Linked DNA regions of Homo sapiens: all the other regions are linked to region 3. Evidence: promoter capture Hi-C in 16 types of primary human blood cells and fetal thymus (Javierre and others, 2016). All regions are on one chromosome and are shown on one strand. Each heading gives the region's core, a stretch centred on a gene start or on the middle of the fragment in contact. The rest is flanking DNA. Distances are from core to core; before and after follow the strand shown.

Evidence for each region. The method cuts DNA at HindIII sites, captures the fragments that hold promoters and counts their contacts. A CHiCAGO score of 5 or more calls a contact.
Region 1: a fragment that was not itself captured here is called in contact with the fragment with the promoter of SGMS2 in region 3 in 3 of 17 cell types (M0 macrophages, monocytes and M2 macrophages); the score reaches 6.7 in M0 macrophages.
Region 2: a contact is called between a fragment that was not itself captured here and the fragment with the promoter of SGMS2 in region 3, in 2 of 17 cell types (M2 macrophages and monocytes). The highest score is 5.9, in M2 macrophages.

What each region holds. Positions count from the first base shown.
Region 1 is chr4:107,913,911-107,917,955 of GRCh38, reverse strand. All of the region lies in intron 1 of CYP2U1-AS1 (CYP2U1 and SGMS2 antisense RNA 1), which reads left to right. The region is part of intron 1 of LOC107986298 (a long non-coding RNA gene); the gene reads left to right. SGMS2 (sphingomyelin synthase 2) reads right to left here. Exons shown (of 7, transcript NM_001375905.1): 7 at 2,909-4,045. Among named protein-coding and RNA genes, the nearest start is that of CYP2U1, 16 kb to the left of the region's middle. The HindIII fragment of the contact is 6,871 bases long and covers 1-4,045 here.
Region 2 is chr4:107,752,941-107,756,749 of GRCh38, reverse strand. No RefSeq gene overlaps it. Among named protein-coding and RNA genes, the nearest start is that of PAPSS1, 35 kb to the right of the region's middle. The HindIII fragment of the contact is 7,632 bases long and covers 1-3,809 here.
Region 3 is chr4:107,823,563-107,827,294 of GRCh38, reverse strand. SGMS2 (sphingomyelin synthase 2) reads right to left here and starts at 2,363. Exons shown (of 7, transcript NM_001375905.1): 1 at 2,042-2,363. RefSeq lists an enhancer at 1-145. The HindIII fragment of the contact is 3,698 bases long and covers 1-3,634 here.

The DNA.
Region 1 (4,045 bases), core at 99-2,598, 92 kb before region 3:
GAGTTCTTTTGCCTTCAAGGCCATTTTGCACTAGGAGCCAACTTTTCTCCCCTTTGAAATTAGTAAATTGTAATTTTAAGAAAAATCTGTAGCATGTGACAAAGAACCTGTCCCAAGGACAGTTTGCTTCTGAAACTAATTTCCTAACAAAACCCTAACTGTGATGGTGACCATAGTAATTACGACAGGGAGGCAGCAAGCTACAGCCCACAAAAACAAAACTCAAGTTCTAGCTCTAACATTTATGAACCCTTTCATGTCATAAAATGGGGTCACCTTCTCTTGCCTTGCTTACTTCACAGGGTTTTGTGAAGATTAAAGAATGTATGCCAAGCGTTAACTGTAAAATGCTATGTTTGATTACAGGTGCCACATATGGATTAAATGTGCATTTTATATATATATATATCTATATACATACACATAGTAATACATAATCCATTACTATCCTAACTTAGATTAAAAAATGTATGCCAAGCGTTAACTGTAAAATGCTATGTTTGATTACGGGTGCCACATATGGATTAAATGTGCATTATATACATATATCTATATACACACACAGTAATACATAATCCATTACTATCCTAACTTAATACAGTATTATGCTTCTGATATTCTTATTTATTAGAAGAAAATAAAATTTACATGTCAATTCGTGAAGCATCTATGACTTTACTTACAAGCCCACAAGTTAGCCTGTTCCTGTTTCATTGGATGCTAGAAGACACAAGACTCCTGAGTCAGAGACAAAGGACTTCACTACACATAGCATAGCAGTATCCAAAGTGTCAGCATGGTCCCTTTGGCTCCCTTGTCTCTCAAATCCCATGGGGATGACTTGGAGAGGTGAAGACAGATGTTACATATGCAGTGGGTTTTCACCTCAACTGAGGACCACTGAGCTTCGCATTTTTACTGCTTTACAGTAAACAGAAAAAAAGACTTCTCTTTATTTAGGGTGATATGCTACCTCATTACTTAACATTGCTTACTGCAAATACAATCCTGAGAAATGGCCTGGGTAACAGGAGTTAGGGCCTTGCACTCAGCATGCCCAGCAAAAAATGTGCTGGATGGATGCTCAGAGCCCATGGCACATTACCTCTCCCAACCTTTGGATGAGATAAAACATGACCTCTCCCAACCTTTGGATGAGATAAAATATGACCTCTCCCAACCTTTGGATGAGATAAAATTTGATGTCTATTGTGCAATTTTGCTAAAATATTAAATAGAAAAGAATGGTAAAATTCAGTGACAATGCATCCAGAAAAGCAATTCACTTCCACTTCTGAAACATCTAGCTGGCTATGAAGGCCCTGACCAACATTTCCTAAAACTTACAAACATTTCCTAAGACTTGCATATATTTTATGCAATTGAAATTCTTATGATGTGACTTAGGAGTTATGGGCGAGTCTTATAGTGCAGACATTTCCACTTAAATGTCAGGAATTTTATGTATCAGCAGCTCTAGTGTATGGCACACAGAATCACTCAAATGGTTGGTGAACATAGTCTAGTTTCCTGTCTTCCTGTGTCTCAGCAGGAGATTCAAAATATCAGGGAAGATGAATATTATCAAAAGTTGTGGCGACCTCTTAATAGCATGATCATCTGGAGAGACTGAAGGCATTACGCAGGGTCAAGACTGTAATGACCTGCAATCAAAAAACCTTACAGACTTGAAGCTGAGTCTGTCGTTAAGTAGACATATAGATCATATAGATACTTTTCTATCTTTAAATGTGGTGGGGATGAGATGGGGGTTGAAGTAAGCGAATTTAAATTCACTTTCTAGTGAGACTAGCATCTAATCCTGGTGGCAAAACTTGTTTGGACACACCACTACATTCTAATTCTAAAATCAACAGCTGTGAGGTAGAGATCTCAAACCAAGCATGAATGATCACCATTCTTTTTTGTTTTAAAGTGGTTTTAATTACTTAGGAAACTTGCCCATGATTAGTGTGATTGAAAATGCCACTTTAACTGCAGTTGTAAAGTGCCTATTGATTCCTTATTGGAGTAAGAGACAGAGTACTACTTTAAAAAACTTCACTATCCTCAGTACTTTCAAAAATGCCCAGAGAGTTTTATCCTCTCGTAGGAGGCACACTCAAGAGCTTTTGTATGAAGAAAACAAATGGAACCCAGAATGAATTAGCCCCTTAGTAAAAGTTCCTGTTAGTCCCTTGCACGATGAACAAGAGTTCACGTTAGTTTCTTGCACGATGCATTCTAGATAAGGGCAGACTTTGAAGCTATATGGCCAGCAAAATCAGCATGCCAGTGTTTCCACAGGATGATGGGAACGTCACTGTGATGAGCTTTTCATCCAAGGTCTGGGTGGAGGTGGCAGAAAAACTATTCTGATCTATGCTCCATCATTTCTAGATAATCTAAGGATAAAGCCTGGACTATCTCCTGTAACTTACTCTTTGAACCTTATTATCTTATCCTATTCACTTCACCCCAATGAATTGCTTTTACAAAATTTATCTTGGAGGAGGGGCATTTGTCATCAGCAGATTCAAAACCTACTTACCGCACCTTGCTGTTGCAATGTCTAGCAAACTCCAGTTGAGGATATTACCTTAGGCTTCTGTCTTGTGAAGGCATAAGGAGACCTAGTGACAGAAAGGGGTCTGCTTTTCATGAGTGACTTTGTCCTCTTGTGAACAATGAAAATCAGAATCATGGAATGTGTGATTATTTTCTTCTCCATGAATGACCTTGTATTGTTCTGAATTATTTTTCACCTTAAATCCACTAATTGAAAGTTATTACTTTATTTTAAAAATAGTGCTTGAAGAAAATATCCCTCTTGCGGTTTTAACAAGTACTCTAAAACTAGAACTCTTTTAAAAATGACACATTTTGTAAATGGAAAGAAACAGTAATATTAATTTTGAAAAGACTGTTGATGTCACTGTGGTTTATTAGGTAAATACAAAGTATAGGCTCTTGCATTTTTTAAAAAGCAAAACCAAAGAGATTAGAAACCAAGTACACATATCCTCTTTAGAAGAGAAACATAAATCAGTTTTAACAATTAGGCACTTAAAAATGTAAATGTAAGACAACATTATAGAAGTATAAACTATAGTTACACTCCTAAATTCCTCCTGAAATGTTTACAAACACAAAATCACAAGCATGGAAAACAAATTTCCTCTTTATCAAAAAAGGAACCTGAATTTGAATCCAATGTGATAAACCAATGATTAAGGTACTGGTGGGTAGGAAAAAAGAGCTTCTGAAATTTACATATTTGATTAAAATGTAAGCATTTCATAAAACTATCACAATAGCATACAGTAGATATCATAATGAAAAATATATGTCAGGAAAATAATGAATCTAGACTTAAAATTTTACTTTACAACAAGGCACTTAACACATTGAAACAGTACAGTAAATTTCCAAAAGAATGCAATTGGCTACCTCTGAAACCTTGTAATAATATTTCTTTTGTGAATATACGGTAACATAACCATACATTTTGCAGCATTAATCATTGCATAGGAGGTAAATTAAATAATGAATTCTAACTTGGCAATTAGATTAGTTTTTGTTCATCGTTTCCTCTTTTTCTTTTAAAGGACAGTTTTAAATAATTTCACAATAAAGCACTCTTCTCATTCATGATTTATTTAGAACACAGCATAATGAGTAAGAAAATAAATCAGAACTTATAAGGTGTGTATCTGTATAAAAACTTATCTTTGGGTAACATTGACATGATTTTCAGTGTTTGGGTGTTGAAGTCAAGAGCACTTCTTAATAGAAGAAATATTTTCAGCAACTGAGTCAAAGGAGTTAAATTATTGCAACACAAGGACACTAAAAACAAATACTAAAAATCTTTATATATATAAATAGAAAAGCCTTCAACACATGGCATATAACTTATAATATGCTTGATTTAAACGTGTAAACTCATTAAGAAACTCCTTCTCACACTTCCTTACACTACAGAGGCTAGTGCATTAAGATTGGCTTAAAGTTTTCATCAGTTTTACAGTGCAAAACAAAAACA
Region 2 (3,809 bases), core at 1,102-3,601, 71 kb after region 3:
CTATTGGTGGATATACCATTTTGGGGTCTGGAGGACAGTGGCCCTCTTCTCACAGCTCCACTAGGGAGTGGCCCAGTGGGGACTCTGTGTGAGGGCTCAAATCCCACATTTCCTCTCTGTACTGCCCCAGTAGAGGTTCTCCACGAGGGCTCTGCCTTTGCAGCTGAACTTCTGCCTGAACATCCGGGTGTTTCCATACATCTTCTGAAATCTAGGTGGAGGCTGCTAAGCCTCAACTCTTGCCCTCTGTGTACCACAGGCTTAACACCACGTGGAAGCCAAGGCTTAAGGCTTGCACCCTCTGGAGCAGCAGCCTTAGACATATCTGGGGCCCTTTTAGCCATGGCTAGAGTTGAAGCAGTGGGGATACAAGAAGCAGAGTCCTCAGGCTGCACAGAGTAATGGAGTCCTGGGCCTGGCCCACAAAATCACTCTTCCCTCCTAGGCCTCTGGACTTGTATTGGGAGGGGCTGCCTTGAAGTTCTCTGAAATGCCTTTGAGGCATTTTCCCCATTGTCTTGACTATTAACATTCAGCTCCTCCTTACTTATGCAAATTTCTGCAGCTGGCATGAATTTCCCCCGCAAACAAATTTTTTTTTTCTTTTCTAGCACATGGTCAGGCTGCAAATTTTCCAGACTCTTACGCTCTTCTTCCTTTTAAATATAAGTTTCAGTTTCAGATAATCTCTTTGCTCACATATATGAGCCCATTCTGTTAGAAGCAGCCAAACCACATCTCGAATGCTTTGCTGATTAGAAATTTCTTCTGCCAGAAACCCTAAATCATCTTTCTCAAGTTCAAAGTTCCACAGATTCCTAGAGCAGCGGCACAATGCCACCAGTCTCTCTGCTAAAGCATAGCAAGAGTGACCTTTGCTCCAGTTCCCAATAAGTTCTTCATTTCCAGCTGAGACCACCACAGCCTGGACTTCATTGTTTATATCACTACCAGCATTTTTAACAGGTCTCTAGGAAGTTCCAAACCTTCCCTCATCTTCCTGTCTTCTTCTTTGCTCTTCAAACTGTTCCAACCTCTGCCCATTAAAAAGTTCCACAGCTACTTCCACATTTTGAGGTATCTTTATAGCAATGCCCAACTCCCAGTACCAATTTTCTGTATTAGTCCATTCTCTCATTGCTATAAAGAACTTCCTGAGACTGGGTAATTTATTTAAAAAAAAAAAAAAAGGAGGTTTATTTGGCTTATGGTTCCACAGGCTGTACAGTGATCATGGCTAGGGAGGCCTCAGGAAACTTACAATCATGACGGAAGGTGATGAGGAAGGAGGCATATCTTACATGGCCAGAGCAGGAGGAAGAGAGTGAAGGGGGAGGTGCTACACACCTTTAAACAACCAGATATTGTGAGAACTCGCTCACTATCATGAGAACAGCAAGGGGGAAATCCTCCCCCATGATCCAATCACCTCCTACCAGGACTCTCTTCCAACATTGGGGATTACAATTCAACATGAGATTTGGGTGGGGACACAAATCCAAACCATTATCAGCCAGGTATTATAAATGTTTTGCATATAATGCATATTTGACTTTTAAAATTATGCCGTTAATTACTCCCATTTTACAAATGAGAAAATTGAGGTACAGAAAACTTGCAAAGCTGGTAAGTGGCAAAACTGTGATTTGTGTAAACCAAGAGACTGTCCAATGTCCGTGTTCTTAATCTAGGAGGGCTATACTTATTCCTACAGTAAGTACAGAATTTAGGTTGGGGTCACTGTATAACATTCAATATAAAGTTTAGTCAACTATCCAAATAATTTTGACCCAATTTTATTATTAGGATCTAGTGTCTGCACTGGTAAACTCATCTAACGATTGCTCAGTTTTCTCTTTTACACCATGCTATACTTGTGGTAAATTTCAGTACATAAATTTGTCTTTCCAATATAAATATTTTAATACTCCTCTTTCATTTGTAGAGTATGTACATTAACTTCTTTGATAGCAACGGTAAATTTCTTCTCTGCAAATCTTGGTCCTCTTTGTTATCTCTGGTACAGTTATGGTCACTGTTACAAGCTGATCTGTGTCTCTGCCAGATTTATATGTTGAAGTCTTAATCCTCCAGTACCTCAAAATGTGACTGTATTTGGAGACAGCGTTTTTAAAGAGGTAATTAGAGTGAGTCCTAATCCAATATGACTAGCGTCCCTATAAGAAGTGGAAATTTGGACACAGATGGCTGCAGAGGGAAAACCATGTGAGGACACAGGGAGAACATGGCCACCTGGACAAGGAGAGGGGCCTCAGAAGAAACCAACCCTGAAGACTCCTTGATCTCTAACTTCTAGCCTCCATACCTATGAGAAAATAAATTTCTGTTGTTTAAGCCACTTACTCTGTGGTAGTTTGTAATGGCAGCCCTAGAAATTTGATACAGTCACTGTTTCAATTAGGGTCTTTGTTTACAAATTAAGATTCTTGCTAGTTTAAGCAGAAAAAGGATATTTCTTAAGGAATATTAGATAGCTCAGAGAGTCTTTGGAGGGTTAAAGAGTTGGGTTTGGAGGCTATGCAGTCAGAAACAATGCTCTAACCACATTGTGAGATTGTGGCAGTAAAGGCTCTGATGCAACTGGACACTAAAGCATACACCACTCACTCTGGATATGAAACATCAGGAATTCTGTCATTCTGACCTTGAGAGATGACATCTCAGCAGCTACCTATGCCAAAATGTGGATTTCCTTCAGCTCCTGCCTTGCCATGTAGCTCATTTCTGGGATGATGTCTCACATGGGTGTGTGTGATTGGGGTAGCCTAGGTTATATGCCTGTAGCTTCGCCGCAAGTGAGTGTGGCAAAGTGAGCTTTCTGGCTTCTACCATGTGGAGGTGGATTAAAAGGCAGAAAGTTGCCTAGATGTGGAAAGGGTGCTCAAAAGGTGATGCTAGGTCAGAAAAGGCAAAGGAAATCAACTGTAAAACTTCAGTAGTATGATTTTTTGGCCAGTTGCTCTTTGCTACTGTCCCTGAGAGCTAGTTATCTTTTCCACAGTCCTTAAACTTTTCTTGAATCTACTTTTTTTTTAACTGAATAAACTCTCCCTTCTCTAGAATTCAAATAACTATCAAGTACAAATAACTGAATCTTCCCACCCCATCCTATTGTATACCCTTCTAAGAAAGAAATTAAGCAGGTTAATATGAAGGTGCTATTTGTCAAGTATTTATCCCTCCCAATATTGGTAGAAGAACTTCCAACTTTCCTTAGTGAATTATTCCATTTTCCATCTTTTCTTATCATTTGTGTGGGAATAACATCTCCTACTGTGCAGCCCCTCCCCAAGTTCCAGAAGACCTGTGGCTTAGTCTGGCCAGTCAGAACATTCCATACACTGCCCTCACCCCAGCCTTGTGATAAGTTCTAGAATAGGTGGGTTTATTGTCAAGGACAGAAAGATAAGATGCAGTCCCTGGACACCTCCTAGCATGACAGACCTGCATCTCTCTGGTTCCTGTCTTTCTGCTGAAGTTTTTAGTCTAGGATGGCAGCCTGGAACAGCTGCGGGCCAAACTGATATTCCTCATTAAAAACTTTTTCCAGAGTAAAGCTGACACAGATGGACGGAGAGCTGAGGGATTCATAGAAACAATCCTCATGTCTTCTGAGCATTCAAACCAGCTGTGTTAGAAGTTTGTACTACATCTAAACTTTTCAGTTCTTTATGCCTATAAAGACACTTTCGTCTTAATTGCATTTGAATTGTTTCACTCACTTGTGACCAAAGGAGTCCTGACTAGTTTGATTGGTTAAAGAGTAATCAGTGCAGATTTTCCCCCCA
Region 3 (3,732 bases), core at 1,114-3,613:
TGTTGCATACTAAACGTTAAGCAAATAAATATCTGATACTAGTAGTTCAAGACAAAGCCTTCAATTTCTCCATTGAGACAACACGCTAAAGGTGGGTAAGTCATTGTTTAGTCTAAAACTGTCCAAAACTCTCAGTAATTATTCCTTTAAAAAAGAAACATCTCACCTCAAAGCATCACTTTTAAAAAAAGTTCTCACTGATACTCCATTGTCTATTTTAATAGTTCTAAGATTATTTCTATTTTTCCCCTATATTTTGTTTAAAGTCCCACAAAAATCCCAAAGAGTTTAAGTAAACTTGCTCAAAGGAACACAGCTCAGAGAGCCTCAGGTCTCCTGGATTCCCATGTCCATGATCTCACTACACGGTACTGTCGTAGGACAGCTCCCAGATCTTTCACCCTGTAAGTTGTTATAGTTATGGTAAGAGCAAATGTCTTCAATAACGTGCACAAGTGCTAAAGTTTCTTCCAAACATTTCCTAGGGCTTTTATGAGATTCTGCGAGGGGAGAAACTCAGAACAAGGTGCAGCCACCTCAAGGTGTCCAAGTGTTTCCCTCTAGGTTCACAAGTCAACTAGCTTTACTTAAAAATGAAACCAAAGGAACCAAATTAAACATTAACTTGTTAAAAAAAAAAACACTTCAACCAGACTATTGTGAAGTAAGAACATTAGAAGACCAAGGAAAGGGCCATAAAGAGGAAATTTTGCACTGCTTGCACTGCTTCTTTAGGAAAAAAAAAAGGTAAAGGTAAAGTTAGCTTCCTCACGTCCTTTCTTCCTGTAAATTCCAGGTTGTCACTTTCAGCCATTGCTCTGACATTGTTTAAACAGTAAATGGCAGTTCCCATGACACAGGATGGAAACCATAACCTTCTCAGGTATCCGTACTAAAAATGTTTAACTTGCTGAAAACATCACTTCCCAATCTAAGGAACTTGCCAAAGGATTTCACATGCTAACCCTCGGCCCACCAGGCTTATAAGGAGGACATTCTGTGGAAATTAATTGGTTATTACCTAAGCCAGCTGCAACACACTATTATTTATATATAAACAGCTATAATTTGTTGGGGTCTGCTTTGTACCAGACATTATGAGAAGTCTTTTGCGCTTTAATCCTCATTATTATCCTCATTATTAATCCTTATTTAATCCACCTTATTATCTGAAGTAGCTATAATCCCATTTTACTGGTTCAGAATGTTTAATGTGCCTGAGCACCCACCGTTAATAGAGGAGACTGGTAATGAAACCAAGGATTTGAAAAGTTAGGTACAGATTGAAAACCCACGCCGAATCCAGTGACACTAAACAGTTGAATCTCTTCAAAATATAACACACATGTCAAAATGATTTTAAGGTCATTTCAGAGCAGGCAAGACTTGAAATAGAGGACCGGCAACATTAATAAATAAAAAAGACTACAGGACATAACATTTTGAGTTGGTTTCAAGCCGTGGATAATTAATGATTATCCATACCTCTGGATGGATGTTGACAGGGGTTCCCCGCCCCTTATTTTCGCTGAGAAACCAAGTCTTCCCTTCCGTAAAGGGAGCAGCTCTGGAATGCCACACGTTGAAGGGTTTCGGTGTGGGCTGCCCAGAGCTGGGCTGTTACTGTTCACACATCATCAGTAAGTGCCTCTCAAAAAAAAAAAAAAAAAAAAAGAGAAAGAAAAGAAAAACCACACACACAAACACACACACACAGTCCCTCCTCCACCAACTGAACTTCAGCCCTGACCTCCGGAGTGGTTCTGGACAATCTGGGGTTTAACCTGTGCCCTTCCAACGCCAGGACCGGGGTACCCGAAATGGGTTGCAAATGAATGAGATGACTGCTCAGAGGAAGGAGACTAAGGCACACATCTCTCCTCCAGACCACAAAATCGAGGAAGCATGCCCTGGGCGGGGAGGGTGGGGGCCGGATTAGAGCCACGTCCCCGCTTCGCAATCCACCTTTCCCCTCCCGCGCTTCGGAGGACTCTCCGCTCCCCAGCCCATCCTCCTCCTGGCCCCTCCGCGCGCTCCTTACCCGCTGGTGGCCAGGGCTCCAGACACTCCCAGCTGAAGGCACTTGCTCCCGGGAAGGGGATTTGCCAGGGGATGGAGCCCGCTGCCGCAGCCGCCGCGACCAGCCCCGGGCGTCACCACCCTCGGGCCGAAGCCGCTAGAAAGTTTGCTCGGGGTCTCGCCCTCCCACGCCGCGGCCTGACTAGGGGAAGCAGCTCTCCGGGTCCCTCCCGCGGCCGCCGCCCCCGAGGCCGCACTCGGCGGCGCTGCAGCACCGGCCAGGCTCCGTGCGCGCCGAGGGCTGGGTCTCCCCGCCCCACTCGGCCCACGGCGCGGCGCTCAGTGTTGACCGCGGCCCCGCGCCCGCTCTCCCCGCCCGCCGCGCGCGGCCCGCTCCCTGCGCCCTGCGCCCAGCGCGCTCTTGACATCATTCATTCTCTCACACCCTCGCCCGCCCACTCCATTTCCAAACAGTGACTCACCCGTCGGCCCGGTGGCAGCAGTGCCCGTTCCTGCTGCCGTGGCTCTCCTGGCGCAGAGTGGAGCTCGAAAAACCTGCGCGACTTCTTAAGAAGAAAATCCCAGCCGACTCTCCCCTCGCGGCTGTTTAAGGTGCAGAGAAGGAGGGGCTTGGCAGGCAGGGCAGTTTGGCTCCCGGCCGAAAGGCTGAGGGCCTGGAGCTGACCTCCCTGAGCGGCAACAGAGATCAATCTGGGAAAGTTCTTTGGGTGCCACTCCCAGCAACTTTCAGGGGTGGGGCTGGAACGGGATCCCCCACCCCCGCACCCGGCCTGTTTCGGAAACTGCTTCCTGACGGCGTGTGAGTGGGCTTGGGAGCGCCAGCGTTGATTCAGAGGGTTTATCGGTGTTGACCGGGCCTAGGTCAAAGAGGTGGGTTTCCAAACCTCACAGCGTTGCCTGGCAAGGTTAGTCATCAGTCCGCATGGTATGAGCTGGAAGGTTGCTCCAAGCTAATGAGGTGGCAGCACTGTCCCTTTCGTGCCTAACCATCGTGTCATTTGTCCTGTTAATTGATTTACTTCTCACTTAAGGAATCGTAACCAAAATAAACAGTGTAAGTAGTTATTTGCTTAACTGAATACTGCGCTTTTCCGCAGCTTTTGGGGCCCAAGGCAGCCGTGTGGTTTCTTCGAAGGCCTCAGTAGTTTTTTAAAAGGGGGATTGCTGTCTTTAAAATGGTAATGGTTCTACATTGTCCTGGAGTTGCTATTCATACACCTGCTGGGCAGTTTTCAAAGTAAACGATGGCAGCCTCAAGGACTCTAACTAGGAATGACCAATCCGAGGGAATGTGGCTAAATCTTTCTTGACATAAGTTTTACATTAATGTCTCCTTCTGGACAAGATAATTATGTTTAGGATTTGCGCTGGTTTATGGGTGCTTCCATATAATCAACAAAAATAATGACGGGAATCTTTGGGTTTCTAGTGCAGATATCATGTGGGTCAACAGTCATTTGTGGCTATTAAAGATGATGGTAACAGAAAAGAATATACAAGGCAGGCAATCCCCAAACTCGCAACTTCAAGATGTCGTCACAGTACAGGCAACCAAAGAAAATGGACAAATGGGATCATATTAAGCTAAAAAGCTTCTGCACAGCAAAGGAAACAAACTGAAGAGACAACCCACAGAATGGGAACTATCCATCTGACAAGGGATTAATAACCAGAATATATGAGGAGCTCCAA